Linked DNA regions of Homo sapiens: all the other regions are linked to region 1. The links are contacts of gene promoters, found by promoter capture Hi-C in blood cells and fetal thymus (Javierre and others, 2016). All regions are on one chromosome and are shown on one strand. The core of a region is centred on a gene start or on the middle of the fragment in contact, and the rest is flanking DNA. Distances in the headings are between cores, read along the strand shown.

What was found. Contacts are between HindIII fragments. The CHiCAGO score rates a contact against its expected background, and 5 or more counts as called.
Region 2: a fragment that was not itself captured here is called in contact with the fragment with the promoter of ZNF41 in region 1 in 2 of 17 cell types (non-activated CD4 T cells and monocytes); the score reaches 5.5 in non-activated CD4 T cells.
Region 3: a fragment that was not itself captured here is called in contact with the fragment with the promoter of ZNF41 in region 1 in 17 of 17 cell types (fetal thymus, naive CD4 T cells, non-activated CD4 T cells and 14 more); the score reaches 18.4 in fetal thymus.

Annotation. Positions count from the first base shown.
Region 1 is chrX:47,481,014-47,484,963 of GRCh38, reverse strand. It overlaps ZNF41 (zinc finger protein 41), which reads left to right and starts at 1,742. Exons shown (of 5, transcript NM_001324144.2): 1 at 1,742-1,869. It overlaps LINC01560 (long intergenic non-protein coding RNA 1560), which reads right to left and starts at 2,248. Exons shown (of 1, transcript NR_126059.1): 1 at 1-2,248. RefSeq lists a silencer at 1,728-2,017 and an enhancer at 2,008-2,307. The HindIII fragment of the contact is 4,892 bases long and covers 889-3,950 here.
Region 2 is chrX:47,138,223-47,142,172 of GRCh38, reverse strand. No RefSeq gene overlaps it. Among named protein-coding and RNA genes, the nearest start is that of NDUFB11, 4.5 kb to the left of the region's middle. The HindIII fragment of the contact is 2,475 bases long and covers 13-2,487 here.
Region 3 is chrX:47,191,847-47,195,796 of GRCh38, reverse strand. UBA1 (ubiquitin like modifier activating enzyme 1) reads right to left here and starts at 1,968. Exons shown (of 26, transcript NM_003334.4): 1 at 1,773-1,968. RefSeq lists silencers at 1,696-1,845, 1,940-2,128 and an enhancer at 1,886-2,065. The HindIII fragment of the contact is 5,053 bases long and covers 1-3,950 here.

The sequences.
Region 1 (3,950 bases), core at 493-2,992:
CTTGCTCTATCACCCAGGCTGGAGTGCAGTGGCCCGAGCTCAGCTCACTGCAATCTCCACTTCCCAAGTTCAAGCGATTCTCCTGCCTCAACCTCCCGAGTAGCTGGGATTACAAGCGCCCAACACCATGCCCGGCAATTTTTTTTTTTTTTTTTAGTTGAGATACCACGCCTGGCTATTTTTTTTTTTATTTTTAGTAGAGATGGGTGCTGGGATTACTGTGCCCAGCCCATATAAAATTTTTCTAATTGCACATTTAAAAAAACATAAAATGCAAAAGACAAAAAGAGTTTAGGGAAAAATACTGCAATGTAACTGACAGATGGTTAATATCCTTAATGGACAAAGATGTTAATATCTCTAATGTAATATCCCTAATGTACAGTGTAACTGACAGACTGTTAATATCCCTAATGTACAATGTAATTTGTACACTGTTTACAAATTGATACGAAAAGGAAAAATCACCCTAAAGAAAACTGGACAAAGGATATGAACATTTGCAAAAGAGAAAAGCCAAATGGCCAATAGACCAAAACAATCCTCAATTGCACAAAGTAGTCAGAAAAATACAAAATTAAAGACAGCATCAACATCCAGCGCTGGAGGGGATTTGCCTTAATGAACTTAATGATTTTGCTGGTAGGACTAGGAAACTTTATAATCTTTTGGGGGAAGGAATTTGGCTATATCTATTCAGTAATGAAACCTGCAGTTAATAATAAAACTTCAAAACATAGGAAGCAAAAATTGAATAGCACAAGGAAAACCTGCCAGTACAGTCTCTCTCTCTCCTCTCTCTCTTTCTCCCTGCCACATCACCCCCAGTTGACAAGCTGAAGGGAATTATCAGGAAACACACATTTTAAAAGGCCCAACGCACAAGCTTGAACCAATAGAGCCGCAGAGTACGATAAATCCAACAACTAGAAGATACAGTGTTTTCAATCAAGGCACAAAACCATTTTTGAAAGCTGGCCTCGTACTTGAGCCTTAAGGCAAGTTTCATCAAATTTCAAACTCAACGTTCTTGGGCCACAAGGCAAATGGGCTTAGAAATCACTAACACAGGGATTAACTTCTTGTTCGTTTGCGGAAATGCAAAATGGTGTTAAGACCTGTAACATTTTCTGCAGTCCCTCTAAATTCCTTCTTTGAATAATCGATTCCTAGAACAGGACGCGACGGACCAAGCTGGGTCAAACTGCCGACAGCTCCATTGGGCAGCATGTCCACCCCTGATGACCAAATCCCACCAAACGTGCAGCTGGCACTCGGCCGCCTTTGTTTCCTTCCCCTAGAATAAAACTCCGCTGCTTTCCCACGTTCCTGGAGCAGCAGCCGGAATAAAGCGCCCATGGCCTTGCCCTTTGAGTCTCGGAGGATGTTTGCCACTCCAACAATGGACTTTTAAATAATTCAGGGGTCAAAAGGCGTGTGTGGGGGGGGGAGAAAAGTTACAAATCAGCACTTGAAACCGAACACAAACAAAAATCAAACAAATCCGAACTAATATAACAAATCAAAACTTTGATCTTTAGAAGAAAACTTCAACCTTAATGCTTCCAGGAGGAAAGCAGAAAGGATAATGACTGAATTGTGAAAACGAGCCAAAATGTTCCACCACTGATGTCACACACACCTATGACTCCCTGCACAGATCCACGGTCCCGGGCGCTGAATCCCCGCAACCCTCTGCGCCCACAGAGGTTAAACTCTCGCTGCTGGCGACTTCCGCTTCCTGGCCTAAATCTGACACGCACGACTCCCCCCGCGGCAACTGCACAGGTTCGGTGACAGCCGAGACGCCGAGTGTTTCCCGCAGCCGGCCGGGGTCCAGGTCGGAAATGTAGCCAGTGGGGCCGCCAGGTGGGCTCCAGACGCGGTGGGCGCGGGGTCCCGGCCGCCGCGGGAGAGGGGTCGCCGCGTCCCACAGAGCAGTGCGGCGGCAGGGGCGGGGGCGGGTGCGTCTCGCGACCTGCTCCTGGGGGTGGGGGCTGGGCGATATTTAAAGAGGCGGAGGCTCCCCGGTAGGGACGGCCTGAGGCCGAGGGCACCCTGAGGGCGGAAGAGGCAAAGCGCCTCGCCCGCCGGGGCCTCGGAGGTGACTAACTCCTAGAGGCTGCGGCGGAGGGGAGAAGCCTGGTGGTACATTCCATGGCCCAGTGCCTCGGCCACTGGAAAATCCCACAGGGGTATATCGAGTAGGGGACCGCGGGCTCCGCGGCAGAAATGACCGCCCTTCCAAGATGGCGGCTCCCGTAGAGACACTCCCAAGGAGACAGCCATGTTCCTTGCCTGAGAGTCACTGAAGGAAATTGGAAAGCCCGCCTCTCCTTCGACGCACACGCGCACGCGCACGCACGCACCGGCGCGGTGTAAGGGCACCCACCAGGTGTAATTGTGGGCGAGCGGCCGCTTCGGAGCTGACACTAAGCATGTGCAGATCAAGTCCAGAAGCGCCGGGGTTCCTCGAAGCAGTTTTCAGGACTTAAGGCTCTGGGAGTGAGTTTAACAGACGGACTTAGGGCCACTTAAGCATTGAGATAAATATGGAGATGTTATGACATGGATCAAGCATTAAGATAATTATGGGGATGTTATGACATGGATTTTGTACTCGAAGATGCTCAGTAGGATGAGTAAGGAGGCTTCTCTGGGGTCATTTATAGGGAGGTGCAGAATGAGTGATTGGGGTTTGTGGGTGAGTGATGGGTCACTAGAGAAAGTTGATGGGTAGCCTGTGGGATGAGTGTTGGGGACACCGGAGTGAATAATAAGGGGGTCTGTGGGGTGAGTGATACAGGGTCTCTAGGGTGAGTGATAAGGTATATGTGAGATGAGTGATGAGAAGTCCGTGGGGGTAAGAAAGGGCTGTGCGGGGTGACTACTGGAGGTCTGTGAGGTGTGGGATGGGGTTTATTGGGTGATTGACCAAGGTTCCTGCTGGGTGAGTGATGCGTTTCTTTGGGACTAGTGATGGGGGGCTGTGGAATCAGATATGCAGCTTCCTGGGGTCAGTGATAGGTGGTCTTTAGGTCTGAGATGAGGTTATTTCAAAACCTACTTTTGACTTTGTTGGTCCTCCTGTATCTTTGTTTCTCTGTCATTAATATCTGCCCTTAACTTCGTTATTTCTTTTCTGTTTTTTAATTTTGTTCTCATTTTTAAAGTCCTGAATTTAATGCTTATCTTACTATCCAGTCATTTTATTTTATAATATAAACATTCAGTTTATAAATTTTTCTCTAAGAACACTTTAGCTCCGTGTCACATGTTTTGTTGTGGTTGCTGCTGTTCGGTTTTATTTTGTTTTGAGACAGGGTCTCACTCTGTCGCCCAGAGATGGAGTGCAGTGGCACGATCATGGCTCACTGCAGCCTCAACCTCCTGTGCTCAGTCGATCCTCCCAACTTAGCCTCCCAAGTAGCTGGAACTATAGGCATGTGCTGCCACACCCACTAATTTTTTATTTTGTGTAGACACGGGGTCTCACTATGTTGCCCAGGCTGATTTTTGTTTTAAAGATACAAGAATCTCTCTCTGTTGCCTAGGCTGGAGTGCAGTGAAACCATCATGGCTCATTGCAGCCTCAACCTCCTAGGCTCAAGTGACCCTCCCACCTCAGCCTCCCAAGTTGCTAGGACTACAGGCAGGCTTGCCCAGCTAATTTTTAAATTTTTTGTAGAGATTGGGGTCTTGCTATGTTGCCCAGGCTGGTCTTGAACTCCTTGGCCTCAAGCAATCCTCAAGTAGTCCTCCCACCTCATCCTCCCAAAGTGCTGGAACTACAGGCGTGAGCATCTGACCCACAAGTTTTGATATGTAGCATCTCCACTATAGTTTCCTTCTAATGTTTTCTAATTGCAGTTGCAATGTTCACTCTTACCACTGGGTTATTTAGATATGAGATTTTGATTTCCCAAAACGTTGACATTTTTGTTATTGAT
Region 2 (3,950 bases), core at 1-2,500, 340 kb after region 1:
GTGTCAAAAGCTTTAAAAGGGCTGCTGCAACCTTCCCTGGGTGTTCTGGCTGTATATTGCTGTGTAGCAAACACCTAAAAACTTAGTGGCTTAAAACCACAATTCAGTCTTCTCTTTCATGGCCCTGTGGGTTGACTGGGCTCAGTAAGGTGGCTCTTCTAGGGGTCTCAGGTAGTTGTAGTTAGATGGTGGCTGGGACTGGAGTCATCTGAAGGCTCAACTGGGCTGGGTATCTAAGATGGCTTCTTCACTCACATGTCTGGCACTTCAGTCCTCTTCCATATGGCCTCTCTCCAGCAGAACAGCCTTGACTTTTTTTTTTTTTTTTTTTTTGAGATGGAGCCTTGCTCTGTCACCCAGGCTAGAGTGCAGTGGCACAATCTCTGCTCACTGCAATCTCCACCTCCCGGGTTCAAGCGATTCTCCTGCCTCAGCCTCCAGAGTAGCTGGGACTACAGGTGCCCGCCACCATACCTGGCTAATTTTTGTATTTTTAGTGGAGACAGGGTTTCACCATGTTGGCCAGGATGGTCTCAATCTCCTGACCTCGTGATCCGCCCGCCTCGGCCTCCCAAAGTGCTGGGATTAGCGGTGTGAGCCACCGTACCCAGCCTTTTTTTTTTTTTTTTTAAGAAGGAGTTTCACTCTTATCACCCAGGCTGGAATGCAGTGGCACCATCTCGGCTCACTGCAACCTCTGCCTCCGAGGTTCAAGCAATTCTCCTGCCTCAGCCTCCCGAGTAGCTGGGATTACAGGCGCCCGCCCCATGCCCAGCTAATTTTTCTATTTTTAGTAGAGATGGGGTTTCACCATGTTGGCCAGGCTGGTTTAGAACTCCTGACCGTAGGTCATCCACCTGCCTCGGTCTCCCAAAGTGCTGGGATTACAGGCATGAGCCACTGTGCCCAGCCTAACCTCAGCTTCTTACATGACGGCTTGGGGCTCCTCTGGATGACAGCGTGGCACATGGGAAGAAATTGTTGGCAGCTATCTTTAGAGCCAGACCACCTCACTGGGACCTCCTACGTTTGAAGAGAAGCCAGGGAGACCAGGGATTAAGGTGGAGGGTGAGTGCAGGGCTTTCTCTTTCTAAGGGTGGGTGTTTTGTCTCCCCTCCCTGTCCTCTCTGCTTCTCTCTGGGCTTTAGGGTTTGCCCCTGTCCTGTGTGTTGGTGAGTCTGGATGCCTGTATTCCCTTCTGCCCCAAATCTGGATGACCTCTAACTCAAGATATGCATCTGTGTGTGTGTATGTGTGTGCACGTGTGTCTGTTTCTCTCCTCACCCCCTTTCCTCTCTTTGTCTTTCTGTGTCTCGAAATCAAGAAGTCTTTTCTCCCTTACTTTCTTCCTCTGTGGAAATAGGCTGTCTCCTTGCACCAGGGTTGCTGTCTCTCAGTCTGGCAGATGGAGTAGGGGACTTGTTCTGGCCCTGGCTGAGTTTGTTTCTTTCAAAAGCATCTCTGTTAAGTGTGGGCTTCCCTTCACCCTCTTGGCATCTCTTCCTTCCACAGCTCCCACATTCAAATCACCACCTCATATATTCATTGCTACCATCTCTGTGCTTGTCCCTGCCTGGGGCTTTGGAGGGTGTGGGAGCCTCCAGCCACTGGCTACAGGAAGAAAATCTGGCTTGCCAAATTCACCACTAGAGGCAATGCCCTACTTCTAGCTACTGGGTCTCAGGAGAACCCAAATCCACTTACATGTGGCTGAGGCGGGAGCCATATCTGCATGAGCCTTCCTGCAAGTGAGGAAGACCCTGAGGGCTTCCCCTGCCCCAGTGCTGCTTTGTGGGGCCAGTCTCCCAACTCGAGTGTACCCCAAAGCAGAGAGTACTAATGTATAAAGGGAGCACTCTCTACCCTCCCCCTGCAGTTAGTGGGACTATGGAAGTGAAAGGGGCATGTTACCCCAGCCACCAAGTACCTGGGTATATTGGTGCAATAACCCCTATAATAAGCCTCAGCCTGGTGCCTAGAGAGCACATTCTCTCCACTCACCACCCACCAGGATGTAAATTCCAGAAGGGCAGGTATTCACATATGTTCTGTTCACTTAGAGCAGTGACTGGCATGGTATGTGCTTGATAAACATTTGGTATTGATACCTCCTGTGTAGGTGACATCCCATACCCATCCTTGCCTTCTGGCTTACCCCCCTGAGGATGAACACTTCTCATTCCCTTCTGCTCTGCCTCATCAAGCTCCAGGGCTCTCCAGAAGCCTCCATTCTGGTCAAACAGAAGGCTGCACTTAGACTTAATCCTAAAATCCGAGCCCTGGCCCCATTCTGACAATACTACCTTCCCCTCCCTCATCATGGCCCAGCCACACTGACTGACTCTTTATAAATCATTGAATTAAAATACACATGCAGAAAAGCTCACAAAGCTCATTTACTTTTTATAAATTGGGCACACCCATATAACCAGCACTCAGGTCAAGAAACATACTTTGAGAGGCAGAGGCAGACTGGTGTCTCAAGCTTGGGAGTTTGAGACTAGCCTGGGCAACATGGTGAAACCTCGTCTCTACAAAAAATACAAAAATTAGCGAGGCATGATGGTCCCAGCTAGTAAGGGTGCTGAGGTGGGAGGATCGCTTGAGCCTAGGAGGCAGAGGTTGCAGTGAGCCGAGATCGCACCGTGCCACTACACTCCAGCCTGGGCCACAGAGCGAGACCCTGTCTCAAAAACAAAAAGACAAACAAAAATCACAACATGGCAAACCCCAGAAGCTCCCTTCAGGTCTTCCCTCTTCCCCACCAAAGGTAGCCACTCTCCTGACTTCTAACAATGTTAGGTTACTTTGGTCTGGTTTTGTGTCCAGTTTCTTTCATTCTGTACAACGTTTGTGAGACTGATCAACATCGTCACATACATGAGTAGTTTGTTCATCCTCATTGCTGTATTCCATTTCATTGTATGAACAGACCAGACTTTAGCCATTCTTACGTTGCTGAGCATTTGAGTTGTTTTATATTTGGGGCTATTAAGAATTTTTTTTTCTTTTGAGACAGAGTCTTGCTCTGTCGCTCAGGCTGGAGTGCAGTGGTGCGATCTTGGCTCACTGCAACCTCCACCTCCCTGGGTTGGAGTGATTCTCATGCCTCAGCCTCCCGAGTAGCTGGGGTTATAGGCGTGACCCACCAGGCCCAGCTAATTTTTGTATTTTTAGTAGAGACAGTGTTTCACCAGGTTGGCCAGGCTGATCTCAAACCCCTGATCTTAAGTGATCCACCTACCTTGGCCTCCCAGAGTGCTGGGATTACAAGCATGAGCCACTGTGCCTGGCTAAGAATAATTCTGTGAACATTCTTGTACACATCTTTTGATAGACATATGTACTCATTTCTTGGGTATATAACCTAGGAATGGAATTGCTAAGTCATTGCGTAGACATGTGACCAATCAGCTTCAGTAAATCATGCCAATTTTCCAATCTACACTTTCCCAGAGTTGACTCCCCATCATTCGGCATTTCCCATCTTTTTCACTGCAGCCATTCTGGCGGATGACTAACCTTTTTTTTTTTCTTTTCTTGAGACAGGGTCTCACTCTGTTGCCCAGGCTGGAATGCAGTGGCATGATCTCGGCTCTCTGCAACCTCCTTCTCCCAGGTTCAAACGATTCTCCTGCCTCAGCCTCCTGAGTAGCTGGAACTACAGGCACCCACCACCACGCCCGGCTAATTTTGTTTGTATTTTTTTTTTAGTAGAGACAGGGTTTCACCATGTTGGCCAGGCTGGGGATGACTGACCTTTTAAGGACCACATTGGGATGAAGAGGGAGGGAGTGCCTACTGAGTGCCAAGCCCCAACAGTGTGCCAGGCACTGGCGGATATCAGGGTCCCTGCCCTTAGGAATTTCCCAGGATGAGGGCAGAGGCTGGTGTGAGTGATCAGAGACCTTAATACAATGTTTTCACCCTACTGTTCGACCCCAGGGACC
Region 3 (3,950 bases), core at 757-3,256, 290 kb after region 1:
ATGGAACACAAAGGCCCTGTGTCAATCTCTGACAGGACATGCTAGGTATCACAGCTGCTCTGAGGGTGTGGAAACGGGAAGCTGGGCCCAGATAGTGCAGGCCTTAAAAAGGTTAATAAGCAAACACTGGCTAGGTCCCCAAATGGGGTTGGGTTTCTCTGACCAATTATGTAGGACCCCATGGAGGCGCTGAAGGTAGATGCTGAGAAGAGGGTTTTCTACTGCAGTAGAAAACAAGAGGGCCATGGCCAGGCGCGGTGGCTCACGCCTGCAATCCCAGCACTTTGGGAGGCCGAGGCAGGTGGATCACCTGAGGTCAGGAGTTCGAGACCAGCCTGGGCAATATGGTGAAACCCCATCTCTACTAAAAATACAAAAAATTAGCCAGGCGTGGTGGTGCATGCCTGTAATCCCAGCTACTCGGGAGGCTGAGGCAGGAGAATCGCTTGAACCCAGGAGGTGGAGGTTGCAGTGAGCTGAGATGGCGCCACTGCACTCCAGCCTGGACGACATAGTGAAACAATTCTGTCTCGGAAAAAAGAAAAAGAAAAAGAAAACAAGAAGGCCTGTGGGGGGAAGGGACATCTGACAATGATCCTGGGGTCCAAGGAGGCTGAAAGCAGAAGCTGAAAACCCCTGACTGCAGACGTTAGGGACCTTGAAACGATCTGAGGGCAGATTCTGAGGCCTGATGTGAGGATAAGGGATCTGTGAAAAAAGCAGCTAGAACCCAGGTTGGTTTTTGAAGGCAGAGGCTGGGTCTAGGGTGGGGTTGGGGAGGCGAGTCTCTGATGGAAGGGGCTAGAAGCCAACGGGATCTGCAAGAGCAGATGCTCGCAGGGGCTCTTTGATGGAGGATTATGTATCCAAACAGTTCCTCCCTGGTATCTGGTGCACTGGAAGGCTCTGGGGGTTCAAGGTGCCTGATGGGGAAGATGCTGAGGCCTCTCAGTAGTCTCTGAATACTGGAAGTATAAAAAGCGAGAAATTCCATAAAAGTAGAGAAAGTGTCAAAGGACAGAGTCTAGGAATTGAAGAGTCTCTCAAGGCAGATGGTAAGAGGGGTCTCTGAGTAGAAATACTGGGCAGAGTCTCTGATGGAAGATGCTAGGGCCAGGGTGGGGTTAGGAGACCTGACGTGTGGCGAAGAGGGGCCCCCGACACAAAGGCCAGGCCCAAATGGCCTTTCACAGGGTCTAGTACCCCTGGAAGCTCTGAGCGCGGCTAGCATGTGTGTGGGATGGGGGTCTGAAGGAAAATGCTAAAGAGGACTCTCTTACAGAGATAAAGGGCCTATGGACCCCTTCGAGATCTAGCCCGTCCTGGAAGCCTTGAGGACAAATACTGAGAAGCTAGGAAGTGTCTCAAAGGAGATTCTGGGGCAGGTCTTTAACGGCATTCAATGGTGAGGAGCTCTGATCAGCAATGCTGATCCACGTAAATCTCTATTGGAGACTGGGGAAGAGTTCTGATCTGAGATACAAGGTTCGGGACGGAGTCAGGTCCCAGACTAGAGATGTTGGGCGTGAGTCTCTAAAAGCACATCCTGGGGGTCCGACTCCAAGGTCAGATTTTGCAACCAGAGGGAGCCGGAGTGGTCCTGGCCGGGGAAAGTCGGCCCCGCCCCAGGATCCGCTCCCCCTCCCTACTCCGCTGATTCCTGGCTCCCGAGTCACCGCGGCCCGCCCCGACAGCAGCGTGGCTCAGGGCCCTCCAGTGCCTCCCCGAAACCCCTGCCCAGGGCGAGGCGCAGTGAAAGGACGTTTTTTTACCAATGCCGGTTCCCCGGGTCGCGCCGCCGCCAACTCCTCAAGGAGCCGAAGCCAAGCCCGGCCGCCACCCTCCTCCTTCTCCTCCTCCCCGCCGCCTGGGCCGCCTAGAATCGCCGCTGCCGCCTTCTCCTCCCCCGGCCGTTGTGGTTGTGGTTGTCCCTGCCACCTCCTTACAGCCGAGCCGCCGACACAAGATGGCGGACGCTGAGCCTGGGGCCGGAACAAAACCTTGGGCCCCACCCCCAGAAACCCGGATGCAAGCGGGCCGCGCCTACTTATGAATCATGCATAAAGTTCCCTACTCGGTTGCGATTCATTCGGTTAGAAGTGGAACAGCACCACCTGGTGGACATTGTGGCAGTAACAACGAAAACAGGTAAAACAGAGGCCACGCCTCATGGAATGCGACTAATGAATGAATTGTTGCAGCCAGGCTGTCAAGGAAGCGAAGAAAAACCGTTAAGGCCATGCTTCCTGATTATAAGTTATGCATGAAGTTGAGTGGTTGGTAGACTAACAACCAGCAACCAGAAAGCAGATGTTAAAACATGGAAGCCACACACCCCCATTCATGAATAATGATGATCTTGCAGGGGCCCGGAAGCCAAGGAGACCCAGGCCACAACTTACTCATGAATAATGCATGAGGCCCAGTGGGTTGGAATAAAAGGGGCACGCCCGCCTATTGCTGCATCTAATACACTGTAAGCAGGGAAATGGGGCTGCTGCAGGGAAAACACACTCTCCCAGGTCCTGAATAATGAATTATGCTGCTGCAGTAGCTCAACCTGGAAACTCAGAGAGGTCAAGAAAGGTTCCACCCAATTTATGAATTATGCATAAGGCGAAGAAACACCCAAGACTGCCCTGCCCAGCAAATAGGGATTACGATGCTATAGCCAAGGCAAAGTGAGCACGCCTTCCTGTTCATGAATAATGAAAGATGTCACTGCAGTGCCACCAGAAAACCCAGGGGACGTGTACTCCCTGCCCCCACCTCCCCTCTCCACGCCTCCCTCCATTCTCCCCGCCTCAGGAACAAGGGCTGCCTTGGTCCAATCAAACCCAAACTCACTACATGTCTTTGGCAGGTGCCTCAGTTTCCACAACTGTAAAATGAGGATAGTAATGTGTTATTATGAAAATCAGATGACGCCTGTAATCCCAGCACTTTAGGAGGCCGAGGCGGGTGGATCACCTGAGGTCAGGAATTGGAGACCAGCCTGGCCAAGATGGTGAAACCCTGTCTCTACTAAAAATACAAAAATTAGCTGGGCATGTTGGCGGGCGCCTGTAATCCCAGCTACTGGGGAGGCTGAGGCAGGAGAATCGCTTGAACTCGGGAAGCAGAGGTTGCAGTCAGCCGAGATCGCGCCATTGCACTCCAGCTTGGGCGACAAGAGAGAAACTCCGTCTCAAACAAAAGAAAATCAGAGAATATAAATTATGGGATGAGCCTTAGAACATTGCTGGCACAAGGCACTGTTAAATTTTTAAAATATTATATATTAATATAAAAGTAATATGTTAAGATATGTAAATATATATTTACATTAATATAAAATTAGTTATGAATACTCAGCCACTAGAGAAACCCCCAACTTGGGCCACTGCTTCCCCATCCATAAAATAGGAATAACAGCAACTTACCTTGCGATGGAGTTTAAATGAAGAAATAAGTAGAAAGGGCTTAGACCAGTGCCTGGCACATGCTAAGTGTTATATTAGTAGTAGTAGTACTATCAAATGGCGGCGCAGGGGAATGGGGAGGGGAGACATTATGGCATCTGGTTAAGACTACAGATTGCGGAACTAGACCCCAATTTGAATCCCGGCCCAGCCACTCACTGATTGTGTGACCTTAGGCAAATTACTTAGCCTTCCTGTGTCCCAGTTTCCTTATCTATAAAGTGGGGGTAATAATGACCTACCTCCTAGGATTGTCGTGAAGATTAAATGCGCTAAGTAGCTAAACGAGTGTAAGCTAATCTTATCGTTATCCTCATACCCATTATTCAGGCTTACAAAACGATTTGCCAAAGATCACACAACTGGAAAGGATCGATGGGATTTGAATCCAGAGCCGGCTGATTATCTGGGATTACCAGGCCATAAGAAATGAACAATGTAGGAGGCCTCATCCCTTTGCTAGACGCCAGGTTTTAACTCTGGTACCTG